3 separate regions of the Homo sapiens genome follow, and all the other regions are linked to region 1. The links are contacts of gene promoters, found by promoter capture Hi-C in blood cells and fetal thymus (Javierre and others, 2016). All regions are on one chromosome and are shown on one strand. The core of a region is centred on a gene start or on the middle of the fragment in contact, and the rest is flanking DNA. Distances in the headings are between cores, read along the strand shown. Region 1 holds the start of MMP2 (matrix metallopeptidase 2). Region 2 has its middle 13 kb from the start of SLC6A2. Region 3 holds the start of LOC105371280 (a long non-coding RNA gene).

The links. Contacts are between HindIII fragments. The CHiCAGO score rates a contact against its expected background, and 5 or more counts as called.
Region 2: a fragment that was not itself captured here is called in contact with the fragment with the promoter of MMP2 in region 1 in 4 of 17 cell types (monocytes, M1 macrophages, M2 macrophages and 1 more); the score reaches 6.4 in monocytes.
Region 3: a fragment that was not itself captured here is called in contact with the fragment with the promoter of MMP2 in region 1 in 6 of 17 cell types (M2 macrophages, fetal thymus, M0 macrophages and 3 more); the score reaches 7.1 in M2 macrophages.

Annotation. Positions count from the first base shown.
Region 1 is chr16:55,476,052-55,480,555 of GRCh38, reverse strand. MMP2 (matrix metallopeptidase 2) reads right to left here and starts at 1,358. Exons shown (of 13, transcript NM_004530.6): 1 at 924-1,358. The coding sequence starts at 1,076. The HindIII fragment of the contact is 12,132 bases long and covers 1-4,504 here.
Region 2 is chr16:55,640,391-55,644,877 of GRCh38, reverse strand. No RefSeq gene overlaps it. Among named protein-coding and RNA genes, the nearest start is that of SLC6A2, 13 kb to the left of the region's middle. RefSeq lists a silencer at 1,307-1,601. The HindIII fragment of the contact is 1,369 bases long and covers 2,353-3,721 here.
Region 3 is chr16:55,717,975-55,722,654 of GRCh38, reverse strand. It overlaps LOC105371280 (a long non-coding RNA gene), which reads left to right and starts at 819. Exons shown (of 3, transcript XR_933605.1): 1 at 819-970; 2 at 4,596-4,680. The HindIII fragment of the contact is 449 bases long and covers 1,776-2,224 here.

The DNA.
Region 1 (4,504 bases), core at 109-2,608:
CGCACGCTCACAAGACAACATCTGAACCGCGGTTTGGGAGCCCAGCCAGGAAGGAGGGCTCTCTGGCCGCTCTCCGACCCGAGCGGAGCGCAGTCCGCCCCCGCCCCACGCGCCGGGCCCTCCAGCGCCTGCCCCACTCCTCCTCCCTCCTGCCGGGCCAGCTCTCTCCTTCTTTTCTCCGACCCTTTGGAGAAGTTCGAGGAAACTTTCCGAGGCCCAGCCCTTGACCAATTTGTCCATTAAGCCAGGAGAAAAAAGATGCGCTCTCTGCTTCCCTCCTGCCCCAATCACTTCCCAAATGGCCCCCTCGAGCTGTTTGTTTAAAGGTCCCTCTCCGGATCTGTGCCGAAGGTTCCTAGAAATTTGCCAAGCCCCGCTTTGACCAAGCTCCCTCCCATCCTTATGCGCGCATAAGTTTACCCAAATTGTGTGCCAGAGCACCGTTCCCAAAGTCCTACATTAGCAAAAACGACCCCTGTAGCTGTTTGCCAAAGGCTTACCTAGACGCTTGGCAAGAGCCCTTAGCAACTGCCCAGATGTGTCCAAAAGTTGTTTACAAAGACCGCCCCCCCCCCCCGCCAAATGTCCCAGATACTAGAGGATGTCCCCGCTATTTACATAAGAGTCCCTTTCCAGTAGTTTGCCAGGTCACCCCTCTCCCACTCTCTGGCTTGTTTTTCGCCCCACTGCTGTATGCTGAAGGTTGCCAAATTGTTTATCAAAGGTTTTCTTTGCTTACAAAAGATCCCCCACCGTTTGCAAGAGATCACTCCAATAGCTTGCCAAAGACCCCCCAAGCTGTTTACCGAAGCCCCTCCCCCACGCTGTGTGCCCACCGCCGAGGGCAGGGGGAGAGACACCCCCATCCTTTGCCTCCGAAGTTTGTCTAAACGTGGTTCCTTGAGGCCAGCGCAGCAACTCACCACTGCCAACTCTTTGTCCGTTTTGGGGGCGACATCGCCGGGGAACTTGATGATGGGCGACGGCGCGGCGGCGGCGTGGCTCAGCAGGCAGCCCAGGAGACAGAGCGCCCTCAGGGGACCCGTGAGCGCGCCCCGGGCCATTAGCGCCTCCATCGTAGCGCTCCCTGGCCCCGCGCGTCGCCCGGGGGTCGCTGGCTCGGTGCGTGTGGCCGCCTCGCCGCCTGGTTGGAGCCTGCTCCGCGGCGCAGGGCTGCGCTCCGAGGGTCCGCTGGCTCGGTGGCCTGGGGTTTGCCCGGCTCAGCGGCTCATGGTCCGGCCCCCGCGCCCCAGCCCCCGCCGCCGCCGCCGCCGCCGCAGGTCCTGGCAATCCCTTTGTATGTTTAAAGCCCCAGATGCGCAGCCTCCAGCCACCGCCTGAGGAAGTCTGGATGCAGCGGAAACAAGGGAGGGCAGCCGCCAGATGTAGCCGGCTGGGCTGGGAGGGAGCTGGCAGAGCGGGGCTGGGGGCGGGGGGCGCACTCGGGCCCGCCCCTCTCTGCCCCACCCCCCTACTCGCCCTCCTCCACTTTTCTCCTCTTTTTTCCTTTCTCCACCTCTTTTCCCCGGCCGCCTGCTACTCCTGGCCTCTACGTCCACCCTCAGTGCACGACCTCGTCACCCCACTTGCCTCTCTCGCGATCTGGGCGCACAGCCTCAGAACCCCCTGCTGGGAAACATCTGTCGCTCTAGGCCCTTGACGTCCTGAGGTTAGAGAGCAGCGGTACTACTAGGAGGGACGCCGGCTTGGCTAGGACACCCTGCACTCCCTGGGGTCAGGAACGGGAAGGAATGGTCAGAAACAGATGATCAGCCACAATGATAGATGGTCAGAGACAGAAATTTTCGATATTTAGGGATAGGGACAGAGAGATTCTGGGATGAACAGAGATGGAAAGAGAGAGATGGAAACAGAGACAGTGGAAGGTCCCAGGTTGCTTCCTTACCTCTTTCCTTCTGCAAATGTGTAAGCCTTAACTTGGCCTCGTATAGTGCGAGATGCTAGATACACCTTGGGAAATAGAGCAGTCAGGGGCCCCGCGTTAGAGACGTTGGAACCAGAGCGACTCCATCTTGAACAGGGGGCTGGGTAAAATGAGGCTGAGACCTGCTGGGCTGCACTCCCAGGAGGGTCCGCATTCTCGGTCACAGGATGAGATAGAAATTGGGCAAGACTGGTTTAATAAGATAGAGGTCACAAAGACCCCACTGATAAAACAGTATGCAGTGAAGAAGCCAGCCAAAACCAAGATGGCAAAGAAAGCGACCTCTGGTCATCCTCACTGCTCATTTTACGCTAATTATAATGCATTAGCATGTTAAAGGAAGCACCCACCAGTGCCATGGCAGTTTATAAATGCCATGGCAATGTGGGGAGGTTTACCCTATATGGTCTAAAAAGGGGAGGAGCCCTCAGTTCCACGAATTCCCCACTCACTCTTGAATCCTTTCCTGCGCCAAGCCAAGAATCCATGTGGCCTCTCAGGTCGAATCCCAATTTTGAAGTTCTCCCTGTGACAACCGTCTCTGAGGAATGTCTTCTCCCTCTCTCAGGAAAGACAGTTGAGAGATAAGCTGTGATGGGGAACTCCAGCAGGCTGTTGGGAACGCCTGACTTCAGCCCCTAAACTAGTAAAGACAATCAAGGAAGGCTTCCTGGAAGAAGTGACTTCTGAGCTGAGACCTGAAGAGCTAAAGAGGTGGAGTGCTGGGTGGGGAATATGGGGAATGTTTTAGGGAACATTGACAATGGCCCAGAGATGAAAAACAGCAAGAGGCACTGGAGAAGAAAGTTTTTTCTATCTGAAAAAGGTGGGGCACAGGGTGAGGGGATGGAGCTGGAGGGGTCAGTAAGGACCAGCCTAGGAAGGGGGCAGATAGGACTGGGGGTCAGCAGGGAACAGTTTGAGAAGTAAGGTCAGGGGCTGAAAGAATCAGGAGCAATATACTTGTGGGGGGCATTGGAGGTCACGATTATGTCTTGATCATCACAGCTAGAAAAGTCTCTGCGGCTTGGGTCTCAGTGGGCTTCAGACAAGTTCAGGCTTGTCTGGTGGGTGTGTGCTCTGACTTTCCAGAGTCAGTTTTAAAGGACCCTCTTGGGAGGGACCTTGCCCCGCAGGAGGGAGCCAGGCCCTTCAGCCTGACCCAGTGACAAACCTTGGCTGTTTTGGAGAGGGCGAGACTGAGGTCAGTTGGGAAGGGGGATTGCCTCCTGGCCCAGCCCCACTGGGCTCATGTCCACGTCCTGTGGATAGCCAGAGAGCCAAGTTGGAGAGCTGAGAGCTGAGAGTGAAAATGGAAAAAGTTATCTCACTAAAGCAGGGGCTGCAAACTCGTGGCCTGTGGGCTAAATCCAGCCTGAACAGCATTTTGAAATTTGGGAAACTTCATGTAAAAATCTGACTTTCTGGTTTTCTTTTTTTAAAAAAATTTCCCAAAAATCTGGCAATACTGGATGCCAGTTTCCATATGGCAATAATTTGCTGAAGTTGAGTAGTGACTGCTCCCTTTAGATGAGGCACATACTTTGGTTTGCCACAGTCCTCACCACTCTCTATTGTATTGCCTTGTATGTGACTCCCTTCACTAGGTGTTGTTCATTTACACTTGCCCAATTTGAGTTTTAACCTTTTCAGAAAGTCTCTGGAGTCTGCATAACATGCTTTGGAGCTCCTCTGGCAGAGGGCAGCTTTGACTGTACCTCTTCACAGCCTCTGTGGTTTTGGCATTCCAAGGGTATCGGTTTCCAGTGTGGGGCTTGGTGCCCATTCAGAGATGGCAATGGCTGCAGAAGCAGCACTCAGTGAGAGAGAGGCTTCTGTGCCCAGCAATGACTATGTCAGAGGCATTGGAACCAGAGCAACTCCATCTTGAATAGGGGTTAGACTAAGACCTGCTGGCCTGCATTACCAGTAAATTAAGGCAATCCTAATCACGAAATGAGATAGGAGGCTGGCACAAGATACAGGTCATAAAGACCTTGCTGATAAAACAGGTTGCAGTAAAGAAGCTGGCCAAGACCCACCAAAACCAAGATGATGATGAGAAAAACCTCTGGTCAGCCTTACTGCCACACTCCCACCAGCGCCACGACTGTTTACATATGCCATGGCAACGTCAGGAAGTTATCCTATACGGCCTAAAAGGCAGAAGCATGAATAATTTACCCCTTGTTTAGCATATAATCAAGAAATAACCATAAAAATGGGCAACCAGCAGCTTTTGGGGCTGATCTGCCGATGAAATAGCCATTCTTTTATTCCCTTACTTTCTTAATAAACTTGCTTTCACTTTATGGACTTGCCTCAAATTCCTTCTTGTGTGAGATCCAAGAACCCTCACTTGGGGCCTAGAATGGCCCAGGGGACGAGGAGAGAACAGGCAGTATCTGATGATAATGGGCTTGTTGGTGAGCACATGCAATATGCTCCAGGGCCCCTGTGCACTCCTGTATATCTCTCTTCCCCTGCCACGGTAACCCTGGGAGCCCTGTGTTGATCTAGCAAAGTCGTAAAATGAAAGCAACCAGACCCACTACAGAC
Region 2 (4,487 bases), core at 1,788-4,287, 160 kb before region 1:
TAGCCGGGCGTGGTGGTGCACACCTATAGTACCAGCTACTCAGGAAGGCTGACATGAGAGGATCGCTTGAGCCTAGGAGGTCAAGGCTGCAGTGAGGCATGATCATGCCACTGCACTCCAGCCTGGGCAATAATAATAATGATAATAAAATTGGGCTTATGATAGTATCTATCTGTTGGGGGAGTTGGAGGGCTTAAATGCATCAGCGACTGCAAAGTGCATCAGCAGTGATTAGCACGTACTATAAACACGATAGACATTTGCTATACACTTGGCAGTTCTATTCACTTAGCAAACTGGGTGTGGGCACTATGCTAAGTATCATTTCATACAAGACAATCATTATTCTCATTTTACAGATTGAAGACCATGCTGAAAGTGGTTAGACGTCCTGTCCTGGACTTCATGGCTAGAGAGGGACAGAGGGTAGGGTTTGAGCCCAGATCCTGGCAGGCTCCAGGGCTTACGCTCTTCACCCCTGTTCTATCTCCATGGCTCAGCGGTTGCCAGTTTGGGCCTCATTTGCCTCACTCCATCTCTCTGCTCGAGCTCCCTATTCTCAGTAGGGCTGCTCACTCTTTTTGGCTGGGAAACTTGAGGCCATGGCTGATGCATTTCTGAACCCAGACATTGTGGTTTGTCAGCCACCATCTCCTCTGGCCCTTTCCCCTCAAGGAGCTAGAGTCCTTCCCTCTTCAAGGCTCACCTCCCACCTCAAGCCCTTAGATCCACCCCTCCCACCAGTTCTGGGATCTGCCCCAAGGCCCATTTTGTTTCTCTTCTATTTTTCTTCTCTGCCCCCTTTGCCTTTGTCCTGCGCATCTTCCAGGTCTTCAGCATCCACTGCCAGTCTCCCCTCAATGCTGTGTGTCATGAGGTTTGCCCTTCCTCCCAGGTAGCTGGCAGAAGAACCCTCCACTTCTTTGCCCCACTTTGTACCTCCCTGCCTCACTTCCACTCCCAAAATTACACAGGGTAGTAGCAGAGCAAGAGATCAGAACCGGCTCCGACACGTGGTCCCAGGGTCTTCCCACACCTACGTCCTCTCTTTGGAACATTTCTCAGAGCAGATAGTTGAACATTGCCCTGGCATCACTCTGAAGGAAGGAGGTGCACGAAAGATAGGTTTTGATGAGGAGGCTGGGAAGACTTGGGGGTCCAGGTTGGGGCAGCAGTGAGGGGAGGATCCAGGCTGGGAAGGATCCTTGGTGATAACAAAGGTGGGGAGAGGTCATCATGAGGCCACCCTGCCTGTTCCAAGGGCCACAGGAATCCTCACTGAGCCCTCCAGCACACGCAGTTCTCTTGTAAGGGGACTGGCAGCTGGTCTACACTGCCCACGTGTGGATGTGGGCCATGAAGCTAAAGCTGAAGTGCATGTCCTGGGGAGAGTCAGGTCAGGCAGTTGGTGGAGAGACTTAGGCCTTAGGAGAAGACTGAGGGACAGACCTGCTGGCCTCAGGAGTGGACATGCAGTCACCAGGGGGTGCTGCACATATATTCCGTGTGGCCCAAGAGCAGGCCCAGAGCCACAAACACGCACTTCAAGGAGTCAGGCTCCAGCTCAGTGTAGCCCAGGAGGCAGGTGGAACGGCTGTGTCTGGGAAGGCTGGGGGCTGCCCTCCAAGGAGTGTGTGCCTGCCCACCCCTGCCTCTGGCTCAGGCTTTGTGAGAACCAGTCCGGGGAGCTGGAGAAAGGAATGGGGCTTTGTTTCAAAATTTTCCAATTTTGCTAATAGCGTCTCTCCCATTTTTTTCTCCCTATCCTCCAGCCCACCTGTAACAAGACCTTTCGCCATGCCCGCATCCCTTAGAAGCTAGGATAGTTGGAGCTTGGAGGGACCTTGCAGATCTCTCCTGAAGTAGAGAAGTACAGCCCCAAGGAAAAGGGGCAATGGCTCAGGGCTATGCAGGCCCTGATTTGAATTACTTTGAATCACAGAGGGAGAAAGTTCCACTGCTTTTCATGCTTTTTTAGCCCTGATTACGGAAGGAGTGAGTCTCAATCTGGTGTTCATGTGTCTGTAATGACTCTAACTTACTAATCCCCAGTTCAACAGAAGGAAGCCAGGCTTTGGGTCAGAACTTTCAGGCCCAAACCGCATGAAACTAGAATCTCCTATCAGTGCTTTCTTTTCGTTGCTTTATTTTTAGTTATCTATTTATGGCATGTGATTTTGGTTTTTTATTTATTACATGATGACAGTATAAAATTTCTTTCATTATTTCTTACTGTTAACTTAAAAAATGTGGATAATTCCCAAGCATGTATCTACACTGTCACTATAGAGTATTTCTGCTCTCACTAGATACCTGCTCTCTAGTGTTCATAGGTGCCAGATAGTGAAAGCTTAGATACACATTTGGGAATAATCCTCACTAAATACATACATAATACATACCTAATAGCACATATTAAATGTATGGTATACATACATATAATGCATAATTATATAACAATATGTATTTATTATTAAATATAAATATATATTATTAAGAATAATCAATATACATACTATATACACACATGCACACATACTCAATATATACATATACTGCATATGTACCTATGTATACACGATATGTATATATTATTACTTAAAATTACACACGTACATTTACATATACCTAAAATGTTGCGTATATTCCTAAAATTTTATACATATAAACTATATATGAAAACATATATATAAATTTTTATATATAAAACATATATATATTTGTATGAGGCTTAACACACAGAAAATTGAAGTAATTATAACTGCACTTTTTACATAGTAAAAACGCTCATGAAACTACATCCAGGCCATTAAAAAAATGACCAGAATCTGAGGAGTCCCCCTGGTTGCCCCTCCCTGTCAACATCTCCCTCCTCCCCAAAGGTAACTGCTATCTGGACCTTGAACCCCCTAGATTTATTTTGCCTGTCTAAACCATTTTTACGCATCACTTTTGTGCATGTTTAAAGTTTATACAGTTGGCCTTATTCCGCATGAATCCTCCTGCAAATATTCTTGAGGTTTTTCCATGTTGATACTTGAGCTTCCTTTTTAAAACAAATGTGTTTAATTAAGAAGAATGAGTTGATTTAAAGGAAAACATCAAATGCATACTAGGACAAGTTGATCAGGGAGTGCCAGAATTCAGGAAACATTGGCTTTAAGCCCAGTATCTTCCCCTTTTACAGGTGTGCACACCAAGGTCAAGGGCCATAACAGCTGTACTGCAGGTCAGTCTGCATGTTCACGGCACAACTGGGATGAGGTTCCAGCCCAAGTTCCTGAGGTCGGAGATCTTTCCTACTACGTCATGTTGGCAAGAACATTCCCCTCTGCCTTACCCTACCCCACAGCTCTATTTCCTAGCCAACGTCGGTTCTTAACCTTGAACTGCAGAAAGTAAGCTGTTTTTGTTGTGTTTTATTGATCATTTTAGAATTAAGCCTAGAGTCAGGGTGGTGTGTTATTGGGGGACCAAGTCCCACCAAGGCAGCTGTCCAACCTTCAAAGTTATGACAAGCCTTCCACTTGGCAGCCCACCTCAGTGACCTATATTTTAATATGTGCTATTAGATTATTGCTAATGAGACATCTTAGGGATAAAAGAATTATGCTCGCTGCTGGGCTATGGTAAAAGTACAATTGAATTAAAGGCTGAAATCGTTTAGGACTCTGCTAGACAACCTGTCCCCCAGGCTGGGCCCGAATGGAGATATTAAGCTTTGGAAATTACACAGGAAAAATAAGTATAATTGATCTAGGGTAACTTCACTCATCTAAATTAAATAATGTGATTGTTACAGGCAGAAAGGCTCAGGATGAGAAGCCGGGCGGAAAAGGCTTGCTATCTGCAAACAAAGTTATAAGTGAAAGCCCCAGGGAATTGACTTTCCCCTGATGAGCCGAGCACCCTCCTGATGGCTTCTGAGAGTCCACTTGGTCATCAGCAGGAAATGGACCTGGTCTGAATGTTATAGAATCTGAGGTTTGCCAGGCGCCTCTGACCACCATCCTCACCAGCCCCTTCCCAATGCCTTAGCCAGCTCATGCCCCACCCGGCAAATTGTCCAGTGCTGTGTGCACAACTCTCTTGCTTAGAAGAGATTTCTCTATCCCAGCACTTTGGGAGACCATGGTGAGTGGATCATCTGAGGTCAGGAGTTCGAGACCAGCCTGGCCAACATGGTGAAACCCCATCTCTACTAAAAATACAAAAAAATTAGCCAGGCATGGTGGCGGGTGCCTGTAATCCCAGCTACTTGGGAGGCTGAGACAGGAGAATCGCTTGAACCCAGGAGGAAGAGGTTGCAGTGAGCCAAGACCATGCCTTTGCACCCCAGCCTGGGCAACAAAAATGAAACTCTGTCTCAAAACAAAACAAAACAAACAAACAAACAAACAAGAAGAGATTTCTCTGCTGGTGGCTGTAGCTGCTTTTATTTCCATCCATAGGAGTCTTGTGGTCTGCAATGCCTAAGGTCCATGCAA
Region 3 (4,680 bases), core at 751-3,250, 240 kb before region 1:
CATAATATTATCTGAGGATCTTTTATATTTCTGTGGGATCAGGTGTAACATCATTTTTGTCATTTCTGATTGTGCTTATTTGGATCTTCTTTGATTTTGTTAATCTAGTTAGGGGCCTATTGATCTGGTTTATTTTTACTAATAACCAACTTGTAGTTTTATTGATCATTTGTATGGATTTTTGCAACTCAGTGTCAAATTCTTCTCTAATTTTAGTTTTCTTTTGCTAGCTTTGGGGTTGGTTTGTTCTCTTTTTCTAGTTCCTTTAGGTGCAAACTTACATTGTTAATTTGAGATCTTTCTAACTTCTTGATGAAGGCATTTCATGCTCTAAACTTTCCTCTTAACACTGCTTTAGCTGCATCCCAGAGATTTTGGTAAGTTGCATCCCTATTTTCAATAATTTCAAAGAATTTTTTGATTTATGCCTTAAATTTGATATTCACCCAGGAGTTATTCAGGAGTAAGTTGTTTAATTTCCATGTATTTATGCAGTTTTGAGAGATGTTCTTGATAATATTTTTATGTTTATTGCACTGTGTTCCGAGAGTGTGCTTGGTATGATTTCAACTTTACAAAAAAAATTTTAACACTTGCTTTATGACTGAGCGTGTAGTTAATCTTAGAATATGTTCTGTGTGGTCAGGTGTGGTGGCTCATACCTGTAATCCCAGCACTTTGGGAGACCAAGGCAGGCAGATCTTTTGAGGTCAGGAGTTTGAGACCAGCCTGGCCAGTGTGGTGAAACCCGGTCTCTAGTAAAAATACAAACAACAACAACAACAAACAAACAAACAAACAAACAAAAAAACAAAATTAGCCAGCCGTGATGATGGGTGTCATAATCCCAGAGATACTCAGGAGGCTGAGGCAGAAGAATCACTTGAACCTGGGAAGCGGAGGTTGCAGTGAGCCAAGATCGCACCATTGCACTCCAGCCTGGACGACAACAGCGGAACTCTGTGTGCAGGTGAGAAGAGTATTTGTTCTGCCATTGTTTGGTGGAGTGTTCTATAGATGTCTATTAGGTCTAACTGGCCAAGAGTCAAGTTTAAGTCTAGAGTTTCTTCGTTTGTTTTCTGCCTCAATGATCTGTCTAATGCTGTCAGTGGAATGTTGAAGACTCCCACTCTTATTGTGTGGTTATCTAAGTCTTTTTGTAGTCCAAGAAGAATTGTTTCATGAATTGGGGTGCTCCAATGTTGGGTGTGTATATATTTAGGATAGTTAATTTTTCTTGTTGAAGTGTACATTTTAGCATAACGTAATACCCTTCTTTGTCCTTCTTAATAGAAATCGGTTTAACATCTATTTTATCTGACATAAAAATAGTGACTGGTTCTTTTTAGTTTTCCATTTGCATGGTAGATATTTCTCCATCCCTTTACTTTGAACCTGTGGGTGTCATTACATGTGAGATGAGTCTCTTGAAGACAGCAGATGGTTGGGTCTTGTCTTTTTATCTGGCTTGCCACTCTATATCTTTTAAGTGGAGGCATTTAGCCCATTTACATTCAGGGTTAGAATAGGTATATGAGATTTTGAGCCTGTGACTGTGTTGCTAGCTTGTTGTTATGTAGACTTGGTTGTGTAGTTGCTTTATAGTACCTGCGGGCTATATTCTTAGTGTGTTTTTGTGGTAACAAGTATCACTCTTTTGATTCCATGTTTAGCACTCCCTTAATGACCTCTTGTAAGGCTGGTTTAGTTGAAACAATGTCCCTCAGCATTTGCTTATCTGAGAAGGATTTTATTTCTACTTCACTTATGAAGCTTAGTTTGAAGGAATATGAATTCTTGGTTGAAATTTCTTTCCTTTAAGGACACTAAAAATAGACCCCCAATATCTTCTGAGGTGTAAGATTTCTGCTGATAGGTCTGCTGCTAGCCTGATGGGGTTCTCTCTGTATGTGACTTGACCCTTCTCTCTAGCTGCCTTTAAGATTTTTTCTTTTGGGTTGATGTTCGTGAATCTGATGACTATGTTCCTTGAGGATGGTCATGTTGTATAGCATCTAGCGAGTTCTCTGTATTTCCCGAATTTGCATGTTAACCTCTCTAGTGAGATTAGAGAAACTTTCATGGACTATATCCCCACATATATTTTGCAAGGTTGCTTATTCTCTTTTTTTCTCTCAGGAATGCCAATGAATTGCAGATTTGGTCTCTTTACATACTTCTTGGAAGTTTTGTTCATTGAAGATTTTAATTAGGAAACAAAGCTTAGCAGGAGAGGAGAGCCAGAGAAGTGACAGGGAAGCTACAGGTTACGACAGATTTGTGAACTCAGCCAAGCACAGTGGTGGCAGGGCCTAGCTGCTACAAAGAAGACATGTTTTAGACAAATACTCATGTGTATGGGCAAAAAACTCAAGGACTGTATTTGTGACTAATTGTATAACAGGTTATTTTAGTTTCTGTTCTGTGGAAAGTGTAAAGCATTCCAACAAAGGGTTTTAATGTAGATTTTTTTTTTGCACCCATGCTGTTGATTGCTAAATGTAATAGTCTGATCGTGATGCTGAATAAATGTCTTTTTTTTTAATGTGCTGTGTAAAGTTAGTCTACTCTGAAGCCATCTTGGTAAATTTCCCCAACAGTGTGAAGTTAGAATTCCTTCAGGGTGATGCCAGGTTCTATTTGGAATTTATATACAACCTGCTTGGGTGGAGAAGCCATTGTCTTTGGAAACCTTGGTGTAGTTGAACTGATAGTTACTGTTGTGACCTGAAGTTCACCATTAAAAGGGATTACCCAAGCAAAATCATGGAATGGTTATAAAAGTGATTGTTGGCACATCCTATGCAATATATCTAAATTGAATAATGGTACCAGATAAAATTATAGATGGGAATGAAGCTTGTGTATCATCCATTATCACGTGTAATCAATAAACGATTTAATTCTCTTGAAAATAAAATTTTTTTAACTTTCGTCTGACTGTGTCGATGTGAAGTACTGGCCTTTGAGCTCTGAGATTCTTTCCTCATCTTGGTCTATTCTGTTGATAATACTTTTAATTATATTATAGAATTATTGTAGTGAATTTTTTAGCTCTGGAAGTTCAGTTTGGTTCTTTGTTAAAACGGCTATTTTGTCTTTCAGGTCTTGGATTGTTTTACTGGATTCCTTGGGTTAGGTTTCAACTTTCTCCTAAATCTTGATGAGCTTTCTTGCCATCTGCATTCTGAGTTCTATGCCTGTCATTTCAGTCTGGTTAAGAGCCATTCCTGGAAATCTAGTGGACTCATTTGGAGGTAAGGGGACACTCTGGCTTTTTGAGTTGCCAGAGTTCTTGCACCGATTCTTTCTCATCTGGGAGGGTTTGTGTTCATTTTACTGTGGTGTAAGTTGAGTATTGTCAGTTGGCTTCTGGGTGTTTTCAGAAGGTCAAGGTTCTGTTCAGGGTCTTTATTTGTGGCTAAATTCTTGCCCTTGGTTTCACAGGATGGCATAATATCAAAATATTTTTGATGTTATAGTTTAGGCTATGATCCACTAGATCTTAAAAGATACAGAGTGGCTTAAGGGTAATGGGCAGTAGATAGGCTCTTAGCAGCATGGCTTCTCTGTATTTCCTTTCATTTGCAGCCATACTCTGCATTGCAGTGGAGGAGAAAGGTAACCCCCTTACCAGGTACACTCCTGGACCTTGGAGGAAGCCCCTCCTATCACTGGTGCTGTGCCTGTGTTTCTTTTGTTGGATGTTCCAGACTGCAGGGGTCCCTGGCTGAGGCCAGGGCCCTAATATGTGTTTCTTATGATGTCACAGCCCATCCCTCTGGGTCACTCTGGCCAGAAACCCTTTACAGCATACAATATAGAACTCAAAAAAATACTGGTGCATTACTAGAATCCCATTCCATCATTAATAATTAGTCTCACTTCATCGCTATATTGTATGAAAATGTCTCCCAGGGAGAGAGCACTTGGGCTGGTAGCCTTGTTGGAGAGATCTTGCTGGGTTCCAAAAGCAAGACTGGACTCTGCAAACATACAGCTTTAGCCTTTTAGGCATCTGTATAATGGAGCTAAGAGACAATATCATCACTTGCTCTGAGCCTCTTTTGAGATGTTAATATATATTGGATTTCCGTCATCACACAACCCATTTATTCATTCCTTTGCCCTTAGCTACTCTTCCTCCTTCTCCCCATTTTTGCCTAAACTTTCCATCTTTCGGAAGGTACATTAGTTTTGGCCACTGTGCTGGTCCAGATTGCAGGCAGCAATGCTAGTCTAGCAAGTGCCTCCCACTTAGTCCACTCCCATTCAGATAGGGTAAAGTTACACAGGTGCAGAACTAGTGGGGTGTTTCTACCACCTGGTAAAATATAAATGCATTTACTATGAACCCCAATTTTTACAGATGGGATCAGAGCACAATCTGCCCCATCAGGCCCTTAGGAATTTACACATTTTTGTTGTCGTTGGAATCAGCCCTGGTTCTATAACCACTGCATCAGATAAGAAAAAGAAAAAAAAAGTTGATATAGTGTGAAGAAGATAAAAAAATAGTCATAGTATCAGCATATTCTTTCCCTACTAAGAATTGCATAGTCACACCAGCATTCTCCCCATCTCTTCTTTCCCAGATCCACCAGGAAAACAGAGGAGTCTATCTAGTGGGGGCACTTCTTCATCTCCTCCTGCTGAGTGTGAGCATACACTTGTGAAGAT